Regions from separate parts of the Homo sapiens genome. Here all the other regions are linked to region 2. The links are contacts of gene promoters, found by promoter capture Hi-C in blood cells and fetal thymus (Javierre and others, 2016). All regions are on one chromosome and are shown on one strand. The core of a region is centred on a gene start or on the middle of the fragment in contact, and the rest is flanking DNA. Distances in the headings are between cores, read along the strand shown.

Evidence for each region. The method cuts DNA at HindIII sites, captures the fragments that hold promoters and counts their contacts. A CHiCAGO score of 5 or more calls a contact.
Region 1: a fragment that was not itself captured here is called in contact with the fragment with the promoter of TMEM72 in region 2 in 1 of 17 cell types (M0 macrophages); the score reaches 6.1 in M0 macrophages.
Region 3: a contact is called between a fragment that was not itself captured here and the fragment with the promoter of TMEM72 in region 2, in 1 of 17 cell types (erythroblasts). The highest score is 5.3, in erythroblasts.

Annotation. Positions count from the first base shown.
Region 1 is chr10:44,369,404-44,374,039 of GRCh38, reverse strand. It overlaps a transcript of CXCL12 not described here. Among named protein-coding and RNA genes, the nearest start is that of CXCL12, 13 kb to the left of the region's middle. RefSeq lists an enhancer at 2,668-3,216. The HindIII fragment of the contact is 2,778 bases long and covers 1,432-4,209 here.
Region 2 is chr10:44,909,078-44,913,397 of GRCh38, reverse strand. It overlaps TMEM72 (transmembrane protein 72), which reads right to left and starts at 2,061. Exons shown (of 5, transcript NM_001123376.3): 1 at 1,816-2,061. The coding sequence starts at 1,885. All of the region lies in intron 2 of TMEM72-AS1 (TMEM72 antisense RNA 1), which reads left to right. RefSeq lists an enhancer at 3,959-4,320. The HindIII fragment of the contact is 1,552 bases long and covers 912-2,463 here.
Region 3 is chr10:43,984,062-43,988,762 of GRCh38, reverse strand. No RefSeq gene overlaps it. Among named protein-coding and RNA genes, the nearest start is that of LINC02659, 74 kb to the right of the region's middle. The HindIII fragment of the contact is 4,415 bases long and covers 586-4,701 here.

The DNA.
Region 1 (4,636 bases), core at 1,571-4,070, 540 kb after region 2:
GTGAAGCTCCTGGGAGCAGGTGGTACACCCAGTGCTGAAGACAGGGTCGCCGTGGAAGAGTGAAGAGCCTGACCGGGATTCCTGGTGGGTTGAAACTAGGAAGTGCTCACACCAGTCAGAGCCAAATGAGGGGTGCGCTATGGTCACTGCTCTGTCCAGCATGCGTTCCTCCTGGGAGGTCCTGGCCACCTGTGCACCCACCCCTGTGCCACCTCCAGCAGTCCCACCTGGGGCCACCTACGGTGGCATGGCCCCTGGCTGAGAGGCCCCGAGGGCGAAGGGTTACTGGAAGCCACGAAAGTGCCTCTTGGGACAGCCGAGGCCAGGATGCAGGGCAGCAGCATCCTGAGCCTCAGCCCCACGCCGGTGCCGGGTAAGCAGTGTGCCCTGTCCCCGTCGTATGACCACTCTGATGGGCCTCTCTGTGCCTTCGTGCGTCTGCCACGCCCAGTGCTTGCCACGTGTCTGTCCTCTGCTTTCTGCCATCCATGGGTCCCTCCGCTTCAGCCTGGCTGCGTCTCGCACTCCCCTCCCGTCTGTTGTCGCAGGGCCTCTGAAGGGAGATGCATGGCCAAGGTGGCAACTTGGAAGTAGGGATTGGCCCCAGGGCCTCCGCGCAGGCCGCTGTCCTTCTGGAGCTGGCTGGGTGTGGGGGGAACCTGCCTTAATGGTGTTTCCCTCTGTTCTTGTCAACAGGAGGTTCAAGATGTGAGAGGGTCAGACGCCTGAGGAACCCTTACAGTAGGAGCCCAGCTCTGAAACCAGTGTTAGGGAAGGGCCTGCCACAGCCTCCCCTGCCAGGGCAGGGCCCCAGGCATTGCCAAGGGCTTTGTTTTGCACACTTTGCCATATTTTCACCATTTGATTATGTAGCAAAATACATGACATTTATTTTTCATTTAGTTTGATTATTCAGTGTCACTGGCGACACGTAGCAGCTTAGACTAAGGCCATTATTGTACTTGCCTTATTAGAGTGTCTTTCCACGGAGCCACTCCTCTGACTCAGGGCTCCTGGGTTTTGTATTCTCTGAGCTGTGCAGGTGGGGAGACTGGGCTGAGGGAGCCTGGCCCCATGGTCAGCCCTAGGGTGGAGAGCCACCAAGAGGGACGCCTGGGGGTGCCAGGACCAGTCAACCTGGGCAAAGCCTAGTGAAGGCTTCTCTCTGTGGGATGGGATGGTGGAGGGCCACATGGGAGGCTCACCCCCTTCTCCATCCACATGGGAGCCGGGTCTGCCTCTTCTGGGAGGGCAGCAGGGCTACCCTGAGCTGAGGCAGCAGTGTGAGGCCAGGGCAGAGTGAGACCCAGCCCTCATCCCGAGCACCTCCACATCCTCCACGTTCTGCTCATCATTCTCTGTCTCATCCATCATCATGTGTGTCCACGACTGTCTCCATGGCCCTGCAAAAGGACTCTCAGGACCAAAGCTTTCATGTAAACTGTGCACCAAGCAGGAAATGAAAATGTCTTGTGTTACCTGAAAACACTGTGCACATCTGTGTCTTGTTTGGAATATTGTCCATTGTCCAATCCTATGTTTTTGTTCAAAGCCAGCGTCCTCCTCTGTGACCAATGTCTTGATGCATGCACTGTTCCCCCTGTGCAGCCGCTGAGCGAGGAGATGCTCCTTGGGCCCTTTGAGTGCAGTCCTGATCAGAGCCGTGGTCCTTTGGGGTGAACTACCTTGGTTCCCCCACTGATCACAAAAACATGGTGGGTCCATGGGCAGAGCCCAAGGGAATTCGGTGTGCACCAGGGTTGACCCCAGAGGATTGCTGCCCCATCAGTGCTCCCTCACATGTCAGTACCTTCAAACTAGGGCCAAGCCCAGCACTGCTTGAGGAAAACAAGCATTCACAACTTGTTTTTGGTTTTTAAAACCCAGTCCACAAAATAACCAATCCTGGACATGAAGATTCTTTCCCAATTCACATCTAACCTCATCTTCTTCACCATTTGGCAATGCCATCATCTCCTGCCTTCCTCCTGGGCCCTCTCTGCTCTGCGTGTCACCTGTGCTTCGGGCCCTTCCCACAGGACATTTCTCTAAGAGAACAATGTGCTATGTGAAGAGTAAGTCAACCTGCCTGACATTTGGAGTGTTCCCCTTCCACTGAGGGCAGTCGATAGAGCTGTATTAAGCCACTTAAAATGTTCACTTTTGACAAAGGCAAGCACTTGTGGGTTTTTGTTTTGTTTTTCATTCAGTCTTACGAATACTTTTGCCCTTTGATTAAAGACTCCAGTTAAAAAAAATTTTAATGAAGAAAGTGGAAAACAAGGAAGTCAAAGCAAGGAAACTATGTAACATGTAGGAAGTAGGAAGTAAATTATAGTGATGTAATCTTGAATTGTAACTGTTCTTGAATTTAATAATCTGTAGGGTAATTAGTAACATGTGTTAAGTATTTTCATAAGTATTTCAAATTGGAGCTTCATGGCAGAAGGCAAACCCATCAACAAAAATTGTCCCTTAAACAAAAATTAAAATCCTCAATCCAGCTATGTTATATTGAAAAAATAGAGCCTGAGGGATCTTTACTAGTTATAAAGATACAGAACTCTTTCAAAACCTTTTGAAATTAACCTCTCACTATACCAGTATAATTGAGTTTTCAGTGGGGCAGTCATTATCCAGGTAATCCAAGATATTTTAAAATCTGTCACGTAGAACTTGGATGTACCTGCCCCCAATCCATGAACCAAGACCATTGAATTCTTGGTTGAGGAAACAAACATGACCCTAAATCTTGACTACAGTCAGGAAAGGAATCATTTCTATTTCTCCTCCATGGGAGAAAATAGATAAGAGTAGAAACTGCAGGGAAAATTATTTGCATAACAATTCCTCTACTAACAATCAGCTCCTTCCTGGAGACTGCCCAGCTAAAGCAATATGCATTTAAATACAGTCTTCCATTTGCAAGGGAAAAGTCTCTTGTAATCCGAATCTCTTTTTGCTTTCGAACTGCTAGTCAAGTGCGTCCACGAGCTGTTTACTAGGGATCCCTCATCTGTCCCTCCGGGACCTGGTGCTGCCTCTACCTGACACTCCCTTGGGCTCCCTGTAACCTCTTCAGAGGCCCTCGCTGCCAGCTCTGTATCAGGACCCAGAGGAAGGGGCCAGAGGCTCGTTGACTGGCTGTGTGTTGGGATTGAGTCTGTGCCACGTGTTTGTGCTGTGGTGTGTCCCCCTCTGTCCAGGCACTGAGATACCAGCGAGGAGGCTCCAGAGGGCACTCTGCTTGTTATTAGAGATTACCTCCTGAGAAAAAAGGTTCCGCTTGGAGCAGAGGGGCTGAATAGCAGAAGGTTGCACCTCCCCCAACCTTAGATGTTCTAAGTCTTTCCATTGGATCTCATTGGACCCTTCCATGGTGTGATCGTCTGACTGGTGTTATCACCGTGGGCTCCCTGACTGGGAGTTGATCGCCTTTCCCAGGTGCTACACCCTTTTCCAGCTGGATGAGAATTTGAGTGCTCTGATCCCTCTACAGAGCTTCCCTGACTCATTCTGAAGGAGCCCCATTCCTGGGAAATATTCCCTAGAAACTTCCAAATCCCCTAAGCAGACCACTGATAAAACCATGTAGAAAATTTGTTATTTTGCAACCTCGCTGGACTCTCAGTCTCTGAGCAGTGAATGATTCAGTGTTAAATGTGATGAATACTGTATTTTGTATTGTTTCAATTGCATCTCCCAGATAATGTGAAAATGGTCCAGGAGAAGGCCAATTCCTATACGCAGCGTGCTTTAAAAAATAAATAAGAAACAACTCTTTGAGAAACAACAATTTCTACTTTGAAGTCATACCAATGAAAAAATGTATATGCACTTATAATTTTCCTAATAAAGTTCTGTACTCAAATGTAGCCACCAACAGTTTGAAATTAGTGTTACTACTTGGAATTTTCTGGACGTGCTTTTTTTCCCCACAAACCCAAAACTGAGGGTTGTGTAATCCTGGCTACAGTGGTTCATGGAAAACAGGGCATTGTAATCATGCTAATCACAGCTGAGAATTCTGGAGGCATACTTGCCTCTTCTGGACAGCTGATCCTTAGCAGGGAAAGGTGCTCCCTTTTCTCTGAGTGTCTTTGATTTTGCTAGAATTGCTTCTGAAAGGCCAGCCTGTCCTCCACTCCACAAGGGATGGTTTTGTGCAAGGGTCTCAGGTATTTCTTGACAGCTGTGAGGAGGGAAGCTTCCACTCTGCCCTTCTCAGTCCTGGGAGAATGCAACAGAGGTCTGGCCCTGATGGTAATTGCTGAGGACCAGCACTCTGTGTGTTTCCTGCACTGCACAGAGACCTTGCTGGAAGCCAGACACGATTCTCTCACCTAGCAATGGCTAGCCAGCACTGTCCTGGACATGGGGCATAGGAGATGAGCCCAGCAGACAGGTTCTGGTCCTCACAGAGGTCAGCCCTTAACACTCTCTAGCACATTCTCTGTCATCCACAGTCAACTTTGTTAGAAAGGAGAGTCAGCACAAAAGTTCCGAATGTCTGAGTCAGATTGTCCGGTCCTCCAAGCCCTCTTCCCCATTGGTCCAGATGTGATCACATCATCCCATGCCAAATCTTCCCATGACTTAATGGGATGGCCGTCATGTGGGTGCTAAGCTGCAGATG
Region 2 (4,320 bases), core at 812-3,311:
GACTGTTAAACTGTCTCTAGCTAATCCATTAGAAGGATAGGTACATACATCTTAGAACAGCCTCTCGACGGGAGGTGGGCCTCAGCTCTGGGTGGAGTGTGGCTGGGGGAACTGTGGGATTCTTGGCATTTTACAGATTTGGAAACCAAAGCCTAGAGGGAGCAGGGTGGACTCAGATCAACAGACATGGAAACCTATTTAGGGTGGCCTTCCTCTCCCCAGGATGGCTTTTTTGCTTGTTGGGGGTCTTGGCCATCATTCTCTTATGTGTAGACGACAACGTGGTTCTGAAAGTGGCTGGATCTGGCTCCTCCCTCAGTGCCTCCACTCAGAGCCTCAGCAGAGCAATTCTGAACCTCTTCCTGCTGCCTACTCTGGAAGACAGGGAAGGTTTTGGCCAGAGCCCTGGCCTTTGTGAAAGTTGAAGGACCAGGGCTCCGGGCTGGCTGTCCCTCTGACCATGACCTTGGGCAAGGTCACCACCTGCATTTGAGCTCAGGTGCCCCATCCTGTAGCAGGAGGGGTGGGGTTAAACCATCCAGCAGCCCTTCATGATCTAACTCATGGCCTAGATGCTGGAAGAGCCCACTGGCCAGCTCACGGCTGAACCCAGCCCAGTGCTCCTGAAATGACCCAGCTTCCCATTGAGCTCTGGAGTGTGTCATGGGGGCTTCTGCTGAGAGGTTTTCATCCTCAGTTCCACTTAGCCATGCTCAGTTCCTGCATCCTTAATCTGTCCAAACACCTGGCCAGCAGGTCCCCATCATACAGATCAGAAAGTGCAGCCTCAGAGGGGTCAGGGGCTCCCCAAGGTCATATATCACGCAAGTGACTAGGCTGGGGCAGGAACAAGCACTATGTGATTTTGACCTAGGAGAACTTTCCCATTTGGTAAGACCCGTGGGTAAGCTTTTGCCCAGTGGTGGGGAAGGGCTTTGATAGGGGGTGTGTCTCTCTTTGTCCCCAAGGGACAATGTGGCTCAGAGTTAAGGGCTCAGAATTCTGCCTGTTCATTTCCCCAAAACAGATCCTGGCTCTGTAGGGGGAATGGGGCTAAGGGTCAGGCCTGCCCTGGGGAAGCGAGCAGGCAGGGCTCAGGATGGTGGCTCTGGGCTCTGCTCTAACAGTCTGCCCTCCTGTCCAGTTGAGCAGCCCTGTGATTCTGCTGGGTGAAGGAAGGAGCCCAGCATCTCTGGGAAGCATCTCTGCTGCTAAGACCACAGTGCATTCCTGCAGTCAGACCTCAGACAGGGGTCTGGGTTCCTACAGGGTGTTCTGTTAACAGGGTCCAGCATGGGCCCGAGGGAAGCCTGTGATCTCCACGTCCAGCCAGGCTCAGCCTGTCCCTCCAGGGCAGAGCTGCTCATGACTGGGAGTTCTCTCTCCATGAGGTAGGGCTATGGTTTGAGTAAAGCAGGATGAGCTCAGTTGACCTTTTGTAGATACACAGCGAAGCCCAGCCCTTTCTATCTTCACCTTCTGTCTCCACCTCCATCTCATGACAACTCTCTGCGTAGGTGGGGTGGCCCCTGGAATCATTTTGCAGATGAGGATCTTGAGGCTTCCCAAGGTCACAGGGAGGGTGACTTGCCAAGCAAAGATCCAGCACCCAGCCCTCTGGTCCCCAGCCCTAGGCTCACCCCACTGCACTTGCTGCTGCTCTACAGAGCAGTGTTTCTAGGGGTCTTGGGAAAAAAATTGAAGCACAGAAGTGGCCAGATGTGCCTGCTGTCTCCTGGCCACCTCCCACCCCTCAGGCAGCCCTATCTGTGGTGCCAGTGTGCAAGGATCAGCAGCCAGGAGGCAGGGTCTTACCTGCAGCAGTGGTGATGCCCAGGAGCCGGCAGGTGTATTCCAGCCCAGTCCAGAACACCTGGAGCTGCATGGTGCCAGGGGTGAGGACAAAGTCCTGGCAGGGCAGGCAGCAAAGTCTTCGGCCCTGAGATGCTCCCGAACACCCTTGTGTAGGTAGGAGGCTGCTGGCTGTGGCTGCACACCGGGGCCCTGCCTTCCCAAACCAGTCCTGGCCACCGCAGCCTGGCCGAGGTGTGAATAGGGCTCACCTTCTGTGCTCTCAGCCCGTGCCCTTGCCAGGCACTCAGCTTAATCATTACCTTGGAAGAATGCTCCTGCTGCTCACACAACCCCAGCCTGGGCTGGAGCCGCTCAGCCCCAGCGCAGCCCAGCCGCCTGAGATCGGCGATTAGGGCTGGGCTGGAGGCAGTCTGGAGCTGGCAATTAACCGTTTCTGGCTGGGAGGAGGGAGCCAAGGAGTGGGCCAGGCCCTTCCTCACCAAGCCATGCCTAGAAAGTCACACCTGGATTTCACACTTGCTGGGGGCCTGTAGTGTCTGGCTCTGGAGGGGACAGTGCTCTTGCAGGTCTGTGCTTATGTGCATATGGGAGAGAGGAGTGTGTCTTTAAATCACCAGTAGAAACAACTTTTGAAATGAGTTCCAAGCTTTATTCTTCTGCGTATAGGTGGATTAGAAAGCTTTTCAAATCTGTCCCGGATTTGGACTCTGACTAGACATACTTAGCTCAGGCCCCGCCACGCAGAGGCCTTCCTTCCTCATTAACATGCATCCCAACATGGGACGTGGGAAATCATTTTGATTCTTTGTTTTGCGAGGGGAGTTGCTATGTCAATAATTAACCGGGTGACCTTGGGGAAACCCAAAGGCATCTGTGAGCCTTGGTAACTTTTGCAGAAAATAAATGTGAAGTTTTGGCTGAATTGGTGTTTTTGATGTACTTGGAGTGTCCCTGTAGCTGTTTCAAGGAGCCCAGCCTTTACACTTGGACAGTGGTGGGCTTTCCCTCATTCTTAATTTACTAACGGATGTGCTAGATTGAATGGTATTAAGATTTATCTCTCAGGTGTTTTTCTGAAATCTTTTACCCCTTTGCTCATATAAGATAGAAAACAAAACAACCAAATAAGGAAAAAAACTCCAAGCAAACCCAATACACATGCTCCTCAACTTATGATGGGGTTATGTCCCAAAAAACCCATCAGACATTGAAAATATTTTAAGTTAAAAATGCACTTAATCCAACCAACCTACTGAACATCAGAGCTTAGCCTGGCCTACTTAAATGTGCTCAGAACACTTAGTTTATGGTTGGGCAAAATCATCTAACACAAGGTTTATGTTATAAAGTGTGGAGTAGCTCATGTAAGAATATATTGTAGGGCATGTTGCTAGCCCAGGAAAACATCAAAATCCAAAATTTAAAGTACAATTTCTACTGAATGTACATCATTTTCACACCATCCTAAGTTGAACCATGGAAAGCCAAGGTCTGCCAATAATAACGGAAAACTCAAGAACAATTAGTTTGGCCCTTCCCTCCCCTCCCTTCCCCTCCCCTCCCTCCCCTTCTCCTTCCCCTTCCCCTTCCTTTCTTTCCTCTTTTCTTTTTTTTTTTTTTTTTGAGACAAGGTCTTGTCTGTTGCCCAGGATGGAGTGCAGTGGCACAATCTTTGTGGCCTCAACCTCCCAGGCTCAGGCGATCCTTCCACCTCAGCCTCCTGAGTAGCCGGGACCACAGGTGTGCACCATGCCTGGCTTGCATGTTTCTTGCTTGAGGATGATACACCCTCAACATATATAATGAATAGATATTTTTTGCTATTAAAATTATTTTAATTTGATTGATTAATTTGATCAAGAATCATGGCATTCCATAAAGATTACCGTTTTTTGTATTTTTCCGCCTTGAATGAGTTTAGGAACTTCTGTGCTCGTGTGATCTTCAAGATCAAGTTTATGAGTGTATGATTTACATATTTATTTCCTGGGTTAGTTGTTTTCTATTAGCAGACTATCAACTTCAATCTTCTTAAACTTTGACATATCTTGACACCACACACACCCACTCCCCCAAATGCAGGTGTTCCGGTCTCTGTGGCATATGCTGAATTGCACAGATGGAGCTGCGGGGGCTGGGCTTCAGCAGCGATGGCAGCTCCCTGTCCTTTAGGAACCCTTGATTTGCATGGGTCGGGAAGCTCTGGCTGGCCCACAGTGCTCACTTGCTTCTTGCTGGCCAACAGCCACTTATTTTTTTTTGTATCTGATGGTCACCTGCTCAGAAGATACGAATTCCTTCCGGGCCTGGCTTGGCAGGGACTGTTCAGTCCACAGGTTAGTCTACTGTCTCCCTTTCCCAGAGACTACTTTAGGAATGAGAGGGTGTGACCCAGTTCTGGTCAAATAGCCCAGACAGGGTGTGTGCTGAGGAGCTTCTGGGAAAGCCTCTCTTGCTTTTAACAAGAGGGAGAGGACCAGCTGCACTCCCTCCCTTTGGATGCAC
Region 3 (4,701 bases), core at 1,544-4,043, 930 kb after region 2:
AAGCCTGAAGTTTTTAAGAGGTCTGTAAGTCTAGTAAAACTTGGGGCCAGCTTCTGACCATAATAAGCCTTAACAATCCTGTTTGTGATTTGAAGGGAAAAAAAATAAAGATTTACAATCACGATGAAAATAAATTTTCTACTGTGGATACATAAATTAAAAACCATTTATATATTTCAGGCACCTTCCAGATATGTCTCCCTTCCCACCTGAGCTCCCTCACCCCAAACCAAAGTGGATACAGCCTGGAAACTATATATCTGCTCAAGTCCCTTAAACTTCAGTTGAATCCCACAAGAAACAAGAATGCTTCCTATAAAACTTGGATGGCCAAAGAGAAAGAGAAACCATCTAATTCCCCTACAGGAGAGGTCATGGGGCTTTTCCTCTGCCAGGAGACGTTGTCAGGAAAGACCCTACTTCAGGACTGTGGGCCCCGAGCTGTACATGGAAGCTCCAAGCACCTTGGGCAGCCTCCTGAGCGGATTCACTTGGGTCCTGCAGGAGGCTGAGACCAAGGAGAACTCCACCCTTCAGGACTTGCCCTGGTCCTTTACACCCAGGCTTCTAAGGATTGCCTAAGCTTCTAATGACCTGTATTAACATCTTAGTCTTCAAAATACCTAGATGAGAATTCTTGACTAAACCTCAACTGAAAAAATCTGTGCAGTCCATTTATTTCCATAATCCATAAGGGAAGAGTTTCCCAGGCAATGATACCTGTAGTCTATGTGTAGAGCTAGACAACTTATAAAGATGTGTTACTTAATTTAGGTATGTTTGAAATACATCTTGTCTTCTCATTTTAGGACACGCATTTTGTATAAATTGTCAGTGGACCAATTCCACTATGTTGAAGAAAATGATAACAAGCATGGTATTTGATGTCTTACCCACTGCATGGATTCCTTTAACCCACCGGACTCACCTTTCCTGGATCTGCAGGGTATGTGTTTAATTATACCACATGGAATGCATTGTCCCAGGCAGGAGCTGTCAGCATAGTGAGGCTTCTCCCCCAGAATGACTGCAGGGAAGGCTGCATCTGAACGCCACCTTCCCCTGCAAACTAGACTTGCTGTAGGTAAGTAGACCCAGGTTGATTTATGGCCTATGGGCCAAAAAAATATAAAAAGTCCTGCCAGGTGGATAAATTACAGAATCCATTATGCTTTCATCGTATGGACTAAAAGATGAGGAAGAAGAGGAAGAAGGTGCTTTCACCTGAAATACTAGTGTCTAGAAGATTACTTTTTGGATTATGTTAGGAGATCAAGCATTTCTCCTCCAGGCCTCTGGGGATGTGTATGAGTGAACATCTAACACGACTTAGCTATTCACCGTGATAGGAAATCACAGCTGCCATGAAACCTACTCTAGTCATTGATCCAGGAGGCTTCCTTCTCGAGATCCAGGCCAGTAAGAGTGTTGCACCCTCCTAGCCTGGGAGGCTCCCCTAAGCTGCCCACTCAGACCCTCCTGGGTGTGCAACTGCCTCCTCCTATGTGTTCAGACCCATGCTACTTTCCCCTTCCCTCCTTCCCTTCTTCCCATTGATCTTTTGGGAGCACCTCCTCTGTGTGAGTTACTGTGATTAGGTGACAGGGATGTCCCATTGATTAGGACACCAGACACCCCTTCAGGAAACAGACCCTGTTGGAGAGGATGGTCAAGGGATCAGATTGGTGATTACAGGGCGTTTGACATGTGTTGTACCAGGAATAAGAACAGGGCCTTTTGGGAGCACATGGGAGGGACATCTGACCCGGACCAGGGCACTGTCTGGCAGAAATATAACATGACCCACAAAGGCGAGCTGCATATATCATTTTGAATTGCCTTGTGACTATATTTTTTAAGTTTAAAAATATGAAATTAATTTTAATAATATATTTAACTAAATATATCTAAAATATTGTTATTCAAGATTCAATATATAGTTGATATAAAATTGAGATGAATCTGCTGCATAGTTTACTCACAGCTTAGAAATTCCCTTCTTCAATGGCACTGGCCACATCTCAGGAGCTCAGCAGCCACAGGGGCCTGGAGACTGCTGCCTTGGAGTCTGGGAGGTAGGGAGGTACTTCCTAAAGAAGCTCAGCTGAGGCTCAAAGGTGAGGGGGTTGGAAGGTAATGAGGTGGGGGAGGAAAAGATACTCCAAGGAGAAGAAAGCGCATGTGCAGAGGCTCCCATGCAAGACGGGAGCCTGGCAGACTTGGGCCATGGGTCACTGGTCATGTGGGTGGGGAGGGTGGGGAAGGGCAGGGAGAATGGCTTCTGTGAGCTAAGAGGCCAGCAGGCAAGGTCAACACCATCGCGTTTGTACAGAGTAACTTGCACCTCTTCCTGCAGCAGTGGAGCCCAGGAGTGTGTGATGGTGGGGTGACTTCATCAAACGAGTCCCTTTAGAAGGATCTGGAAAAATGTCCACAGTATATAGGGTGGGATGAGGGGCTGCAGGCAGGACTTAGGGGCAGGAAAGTCACCTAGAAAGCTGCCGCCATCGCTGGCTGGAGGTTAAGGCAGCTTGCACCCAGGCAGCAGCCAGAGGGTCAGAGACACGGGCTGAGGAGAATGTAAAGCCGCACCATGGGGTGACTGTGTAGATGCAGGGGACAGAGGAGGAGGAGAGGTCAGGGGCTTCCCAGCCAGGAAACCAGGCTTGCAGTGGTGCTGTCAGTGACCAGGAACGCAGGGGAGGGCAGGTTCTGTGGGAGAAATCCTCAGTTCTCTGAAGAAGACACTGCATTTTAGGTTGTCTTAGCTCAGGCTGCCACAGCAAAACACCACAGGCTGGGCAGCTGAAACAGCAGACATTCATTTCCCACAGCTCTGGAAGTTGGAATTCTAGATCAAGGCACAGCTGAATTGGTTTCCACGGAGGGCCGTTTTCTGGCATGTAAATGATACCTTCTCACTGTGCCTTCACAGAGAGAGACAGAGAGAACTCTCTGGTGTCCCTTCTTTTTATGTTATTTGTTTATTTATTTATTTAAGACAGAGTCTCGCTCTGTTGCCCAGGCTGGAGTGCAACGGTGCGATCTCAGCTCACTGCAACCTCTGCCTCCCGTGTTCAAGTGATTCTTTCCTGCCTCAGCCTCGAGTAGCTAGAACTGCAGGTGCCCATCACCATGCCCAGCTAATTTTGTTGTATTTTTAGTAAAGACGGGGTTTCACCATGTTGGCCAGGCTGGTCTCAAACTCCTGACCTCAGGTAATCCACCCGCCTCAGCCTCCCAAAGTGCTGGGATTACAGGCATGAGCCACCTCACCCAGTCGGTGTCCCTTATGGGGTCAGAGCCCTGCTCTCATGACCTCATTTAATTGCATTTACCTTCTTAGAGGCTCCATCTCTAAATCCAGCTGCACTGGGGTTAGGGCTTCCACATATGAATATTGTGGGGACATAATTCAGTCCAGAGCAAGGTTCCTGGAAGCCATCCAGGTGGAGGAGCTGCGAGGGAGGATTTGGGTCCCGCGCTGGAGGAGAAGGGTCCGGGGTCCAGGCTGGAGAGCCATGTGGACATCACCCTCCCATACCTGCACCATCTGCTGTTCACAGAACAAAGTCCTCAGACTGACATTCAAGGCCCTGACAATCTGGGCCATTCTTGCCCTCAATCCTTAAATCGTAAGCACAAAGACTTTTACCTTATCCCCAAAGCTAGCCGCTCCTATCCCATCTCTGCCCACCTGAAGTGGGAACTCCTGCACTCCTCACTCCTCCAGGGCAGGACACTTACCCAGACCAGAGCTGACTGCCATGGCACTTCTTCACTGTGCCATTATGGAGGGAAGGGAGCAAGGCCATTGCTGTGGTTATACAAAGCAAAACTAAGACCCAGGCTAACAGTTGGAGGGAGTGAATGCTAGCTCAGGCTACAGCAGCCACCTTGAGGAACTGCTTCTCACCCTGCAACGTGTATGCATAGCTCTGGGATCTACAAAGAGGAAGATGCTCACTCGCTCCTTAGGTAGAGGGTGGGCCTGATGCTCTGCATTTCTAAAGAGATCAGGCAGATCTGTGACCTGTGGACTCCGCTTTCGGTCGCATGATGGCATAAGTGGTACAAGGTTAGAAATAACCAGATCCATGCACGTGTGTGTCTTTCCACAATGTCAGGCTTTTATTGAAGGTATTTCAATCACAAAAGCCATGAGCTACATGGAGTTCCCAAGAAGGCAATTCTCCATCACACTTCCCATGCACTAGGGAGTCACGGGCACATAGTCCTGAGCACACAGGCTCAAGTCACCCCACAAGCCAGTCAGTATTGCACACCATACATCATAGTATACTTAATCAATATATGAATGTTATAGGCTAAACATTCTACAACAAACAAAGTAACATTTAACATCAAAGGGCAAAACAGATAGAAGAAAAAGTGAACAAACCAGTCCAGGGGTAGCTAAAGGAGCCCTTGTCTAGGCGAGGTGGTCCACTGGTTTTGCAATGCAGAGTATTTGATGCTGCAGAGCCTTTGGAAGCAGATGCCCAGCTCTTATCACAAGTGACTGCAAGATGGTGTCAGTTAGGATGGCCAATTCCAGGCTGCTGAAGGCCTAATCTTTTCTAGTCAGAGTCCTCTGGTGAGAACAGATAGAGAAGAGCATTCTTGTTTATGACCTTATCTTGTTGGATGCAGTCTTATTTTTTTTAATTCATTTATTAAACAAAATATCTTATCCTTGTT